Regions from separate parts of the Homo sapiens genome. Here region 1 is linked to region 2. The links are contacts of gene promoters, found by promoter capture Hi-C in blood cells and fetal thymus (Javierre and others, 2016). All regions are on one chromosome and are shown on one strand. Each heading gives the region's core, a stretch centred on a gene start or on the middle of the fragment in contact. The rest is flanking DNA. Distances are from core to core; before and after follow the strand shown. Region 1 overlaps CPEB3 (cytoplasmic polyadenylation element binding protein 3). Region 2 holds the start of WAPL (WAPL cohesin release factor).

Region 1 (2,700 bases), core at 34-2,533, 5.8 Mb after region 2:
CTGACCTCAGGTGATCCACCTGCCTCAGCCTCCCAAGTGCTGGGATTACAGGTGTGAGCCACTGTGCCCGGCCCAGAATGGGGTCTCTTTTTTTTTTTTTTCCTGAGACAGAGTCTCACTCTGTCACCAGGCTGGAGTGCAGTGGTGCAATCTCGGCTCACTGCAACCTCCGCCTCCAGGGTTCAAGCAATTCTCCTGCCTTAGCCTCTTGACTAGCTGGGACTACAGGCACACACCACCACACCCAGCTAATTTTTGTATTTTTAGTAGAGACGGAGTTTCACCATTTTGGCCAGGATGGTCTCCATCTCTTGACCTCGTCATCCGCCCGCCTCAGCCTCCCAAAGTGCTGGGATTACATGCATGAGCCACCACGCCCGGCCAGAATGGGGTCTATTTCTTACGCCTAAACCCTCCCACAAGCAGCTTCCTCCTCTCCTAGGGTAGGGCAAAATTCCTTAAACTGGCCTACAAAGCTCTTTGTTTCACAGCCTTTCACTCACTGATATTTTTGGTTTTCTCTTGCCTCAAGATCTCCTTTCTGTTTCAGTTTCTTCTATTCATCATTTCCTTCACAAGGCATTTGTACACGCTGTTCTTTGGCCTGGAATGTTCTTCCCTCTTCCCTTTATCTAGTTAATGCCTGCTTTTCTTGGGGCCTCGGTATAACAGACACTACCTCAGAGAAACTTTCCATGACCTCCTGGTCTAAGTCAAATCCTAGTTATAATCTCTCACAACACTATGTACCACATTTGCAATTTGATACATTTATTTATGTGATAATCCTTCTCATAATAAACTATAAACCCCACAAACAAGGTAAAAACTGTGCTTGTTTTTGCTCATCATTGTATCTTCAGTCCCTAGCTTAGCGCCTGTCACATACAATCAATATTTTTTAAATGAATTAATAGATTCAAGGTTTTTTAACTATTCTCCCGATTTAACCAGTTGTCTTCGTCCATTTTATGCTTCTATAACAGAACACCTGAGAATAGGTAATTTATAAAGAAAAGAAATTTACTTGGTTCACAGTTCTGGAGGCTGGGAAGTCCAAGATCAAGGGGCATAAACTGGTAAGAGCCTTCCTGCTGCACCATAATATGGCAGAAGGAATCACATGGTGAAAGTGCAAGACAGAGAGCAAGAGAAGACCAAACTCACTTTTATAACAAACCTGCTCTCAAGATAATGAACTCATTCCCTTGATAACTATATTAATCCATTCATGAGGGCAGAGCCCTCACAACCTCATCACCTCTTAATAATCCCATCTCTCAAGACTGCTGCATTAAAGTTTCTTTCTTTCTTTCTTTCTTATTTTTATTTTTTGAGACACAGTGTCACTCGGTTGCCCAGGCTGGAGTGTAGCGGCACAATCTCAGCTCACTGCAACCTCCGCCTCCTGGGTTCAAGTGATTCTCCTGCCTCAGCCTCCCGAGTAGCTGGGATTATAGGCACACACCACCATGCCTGGTTAATGTTTGTATTTTTAGTAGAGATGGAGTTTCACCATGTTGGCCAGGCTGGTCTCGAACTCCTGACCTCAAGTGATTTGCCCGCCTCGGCATCCCAAAGTGCTGGGATTACAGGCATGAGCCACCGTGCTCAGCCAGAATTTAAGTTTCTAACATATGAACATTGGGGGACACATTCAAACCACAGCACCAGCCCTTCATATTTTCCGCTTACATAACAGATCTATAGTTCAAGTTATAAAGGATAACTTCTTTCTTTACATCCTTTCATTCTTACCCAGACCCAAGATCCTTCTTTACCTCTTCACCTACATTAATTACTCCTCTTGCTACAAAGTAGAGCCTAAATTGGTTTTACAAAGCTCTCTTTAACACACCAGTCCACAACAGTTTCCAGTGGAACTTCTACATCACTCTAAATTTCTATGCTGTTTATTTGACACTTCCTCAAATGCTATCATGTTATCATTATACAATATTTCATTATTATACTCTGTTTTATTTGCTTTTTTCTTTTTTTTTTTTTGAGAGGGAGTCTGTCCCCAGGCTGGAGTGCAGTGGTACAATCTCGGCTCACTGCAAGCTCCGCCTCATGGATTCACGCCATTCTCCAGCCTTGGCCTCCCGAGTAGCTGGGACTACAGGCGCCCGCCACCATGCCCGGCTAATTTTTTGTATTTTTAGTAGAGACAGGGTTTCACTGTGTTAGCCAGGATGGTTTCGATCTCCTGACCTTGTGATCTGCCCACCTCGGCCTCCCAAAGTGCTGGGATTACAGGCGTGAGCTACCACACCCAGCCTGCTTTTATTTTTCTAAATATAAACATATTTAGGTATGTAGATTGTATGCCTCTGAAGGGTAGCTATAGGCCAGGCACAGTGGCTCATGCCTGCAATCTCAGCACTTTGGGAGGCCAAGGCAAGTGGATCACTTGAGGTCAGGAGTTCAAGACCAGCCTGGGCAACATGGAGAAACCTCATCTCTACTAAAAATACAAAAATTAGCTGGGCGTGGTGATGCATGCCTGTGATCCCACCTACTCAGGTGGCTGAGGCATGAGAATCTCTTGAACCTGGGAGTGGGAGGTTGCAGTGAGCTGAGATGGCACCACTGCACTCCAGCCTGGGCAGCAGAGCAAGACTCTATCTAAAAAAAAAAAAAAAAAACATAGGTATAGTTATAATTTGCTACTAGCATACCTATGCATATATTTTCTGG
Region 2 (2,700 bases), core at 17-2,516:
AAAATGTCTTTGCAATGGCATTATCTAAGCGTAAAGCACTACAGATTCCAAAATAAGTGTGCAGACGTCCTTGAAGTTAAATTTTAAGTGTTTCAAGTACACAATCTTGCTCAACCTTTAAACTCCAAAGACTGTCCTAACTAAAAAGGAAAGAATGATTGACGACTAAGTCTTTTCGGTCGTTCGGCTTTTGCCCTAGCCCAAAATCAGGTCGAATTTTGAGAGAAGTGCGCTGTGATTTAAAAAAAAAAAAAAAAAAAAAAAAGCAAAAAGCCTTTATACTTCACTCCCACCCTAATCTAGCGTCTTCCCGATCCCCAAAGGCTTTAAGGGCTTCCATTAAAGATGGAAAGCGGACGGGACGAACCTGACTAACCAGAAATCCTCACCTGGGGACAGCCGGGGCGCCACGGGCAGTGGGCGCGATGGACCCCTCGGACTAGACACTCAATGCAACTTTTCTCCTCCCAACCCGCGCCGCCCAGGAAAGGGAGGTCACTTTCGACGCCCCGGAAGCCTCTGCCACCGAATCCTTAAGGCAGTGCAAGGCCCCAGTGGCGGCCAGAGGCGGATGAAACCACGGGAAAGGACTCGGGGCTGAAATCAACACACTTGACTGGGTTTGGGGAGCTAAGTCAATCAGCAGTCGCCCGAAAAAGAACTCCGAAAAAGGAAAATAAAAGGGGAAAAAAAGAGTTCCTCAGGTCATTCCCCTGCCCAACTTCCTCAGCGGCCCGGTGGGCGAGGCAGTGAGACTTCCACCGCCCGCTCCCAGCCTCTGCCTCCCCCACCCTCCCGGCTCCCTCCCGGCCTAGGCGGCCGCCCGACACCTCACTTACCCTCGGAGCCTGGCGGGTGCTTTGGCCACGGGCCGCCTCCGCCTCTCCCGCTCCCTACGGCCCGCGGGCGGGCGCGGAACCCTCGCGCGGGAGAGCAGGGCCGGCAGGTGAGAGCCGAGAGAGGCGAGGGACTCTGCTTTCGGTAAATAGGAAGCCCGGTTGGGGGGGCAGGAGCGGCGGCCCCGCAACTTCCCTCCCCGCCTCGAGCGCCGCCGGCCGGGCCCAGGCCTAGCTCTCGCTGGCCGCCACTGCTGGAGCTGGTAACAGAGCCTGCTGTGTGCCCCCGCTGGGCCGCCGCCGCCTCCTGCGCCGCCGCTTCCGCCGGTGAATGGTCAGTGCTGGAGTTTGAACAGGGCCCTGAACCATCTCAACGCCATTTGCGCTCCCGGCCCCCACCTCCTTCCTCCAACAGCCGCTCGCTCCGTCACTCCGCTTCCCACAGTCCCCGCGCGGCCGCCCGACCCCGCAGCCAATCGCGCAGCCGCTTACTCAAACCGCCGCGCAGGCGCTGCGCCCCGCATGCTCCGGCGCCCGCCATTGGCCCGGCCGCGGAGCCCGACGGGAGTTGTAGTCCAGGTCCGCGAGGTCGCGGGCCGAGGACCAGGCGCGGGAGCGGGAGCGGGCGACTGGCCGGGCCCTCCCGGTCTCGGCAGCCACTTCTAGCTCCCGGCCCAGCCGGGAGACGCAGGTGCCACGGAGATGGGCAGCCGGGCGGGTGGCGCAGTGCAGGCAGCTGTATCAATCGCTTCCCCTCCAGGGACCCGCCGGTGCCTGGGGACCGCGGGCTGTGCAGCTGTGCCGGGCCTGCGGAGGCCGCCGCCCGGGAGCTGGGAGGCAGGGGGCGCGTGGTCAAGAGCCGCCCTCGACCTGGCCTGGTCGGTCCTGGCCCGGCGTAGGTGACGATGGCGGGGACCGCGAGGCGCCGGACACCCGAGGCCACGAGCAGCGTCGCCCCTCGCTTTTTCGCGCCCCTCCAGCCCTGCAGTCCTTCCTCTAAGTCCGTCTGCCCCTCACCGATTGAAAGTGGCCCCGAGAATATTGGATGGTATTGAGCAATTATCATTAACTTTGTTGGGTGTGGTAACGGTAATGTGGTTATGGTTTTTTGTTTTTTTTTTTTTAAGACCTACTGATGTGTTGACAGAGTGATCTGGTGTCAGGACTGTAAAATACGCCTATGAAAACTGGGGGAGAGGAATAAAACAAGCTGGCAGAACGTTTTTCATCGTTGAAGCTGCGTGATGCGAGCATATGTGCTCATCATACAGTCTCTTTACTTGTGTATCTGAAATTTTCCATAATAAAAAGTTTAAAGAAGTGAACCAGCGATTGCCTCTAGGGAGGACAGTGAGGTGGCGGATGACGGGAGGAAGGAGTCTTAATTTTTCGCTGTACGCCTTTTTGTGCTATCTTAGGTTTTTCCCATTCAATGTGTTACCTAATTCAGAAAATTGGTAAGTTTTTTTTAAGGCTACCATGGGAAAACAGCGTTCTAAAGAGTAGCGCAACCAGTTCCCCCTAAGAGAGGTGCATGATTCGTCGGACTCCGACAGCCTTGGTGTTTGTTAGGCGGTTAATGGAGACCCACCTGGGAAATTAGAAAACTACTAATTGCTTTCAGTGAGAAGCCCGCCCTTCTCCCACAAATGGATAATTTGCTTTTAATGCACCCAGAAGTTATCCAGCTCCCTCCGGTATAATCGGGGAAACTCCAAATAAAGGAAAAATAGTTCAGAGACCCTGCAGCTCTTCCCAAGAGGAATTTAAGGTGGATTTTAGTGTGGTTGGATTGTTTTGCCTACCTGACTGCAGAATTTATATTCTGACATTTACAATTTCCTAAATACTGAATCAGTACTTT

What was found. The method cuts DNA at HindIII sites, captures the fragments that hold promoters and counts their contacts. A CHiCAGO score of 5 or more calls a contact.
Region 1: a fragment that was not itself captured here is called in contact with the fragment with the promoter of WAPL in region 2 in 1 of 17 cell types (neutrophils); the score reaches 5.9 in neutrophils.

The regions. Positions count from the first base shown.
Region 1 is chr10:92,283,954-92,286,653 of GRCh38, forward strand. All of the region lies in intron 1 of CPEB3 (cytoplasmic polyadenylation element binding protein 3), which reads right to left. Among named protein-coding and RNA genes, the nearest start is that of CPEB3, 5.8 kb to the right of the region's middle. The HindIII fragment of the contact is 3,496 bases long and covers 1-2,700 here.
Region 2 is chr10:86,520,526-86,523,225 of GRCh38, forward strand. WAPL (WAPL cohesin release factor) reads right to left here and starts at 1,267. Exons shown (of 19, transcript NM_015045.5): 1 at 840-1,267. It overlaps WAPL-DT (WAPL divergent transcript), which reads left to right and starts at 1,422. Exons shown (of 2, transcript NR_186498.1): 1 at 1,422-1,884; 2 at 1,984-2,700. RefSeq lists silencers at 761-1,180, 1,321-1,880. The HindIII fragment of the contact is 16,574 bases long and covers 1-2,700 here.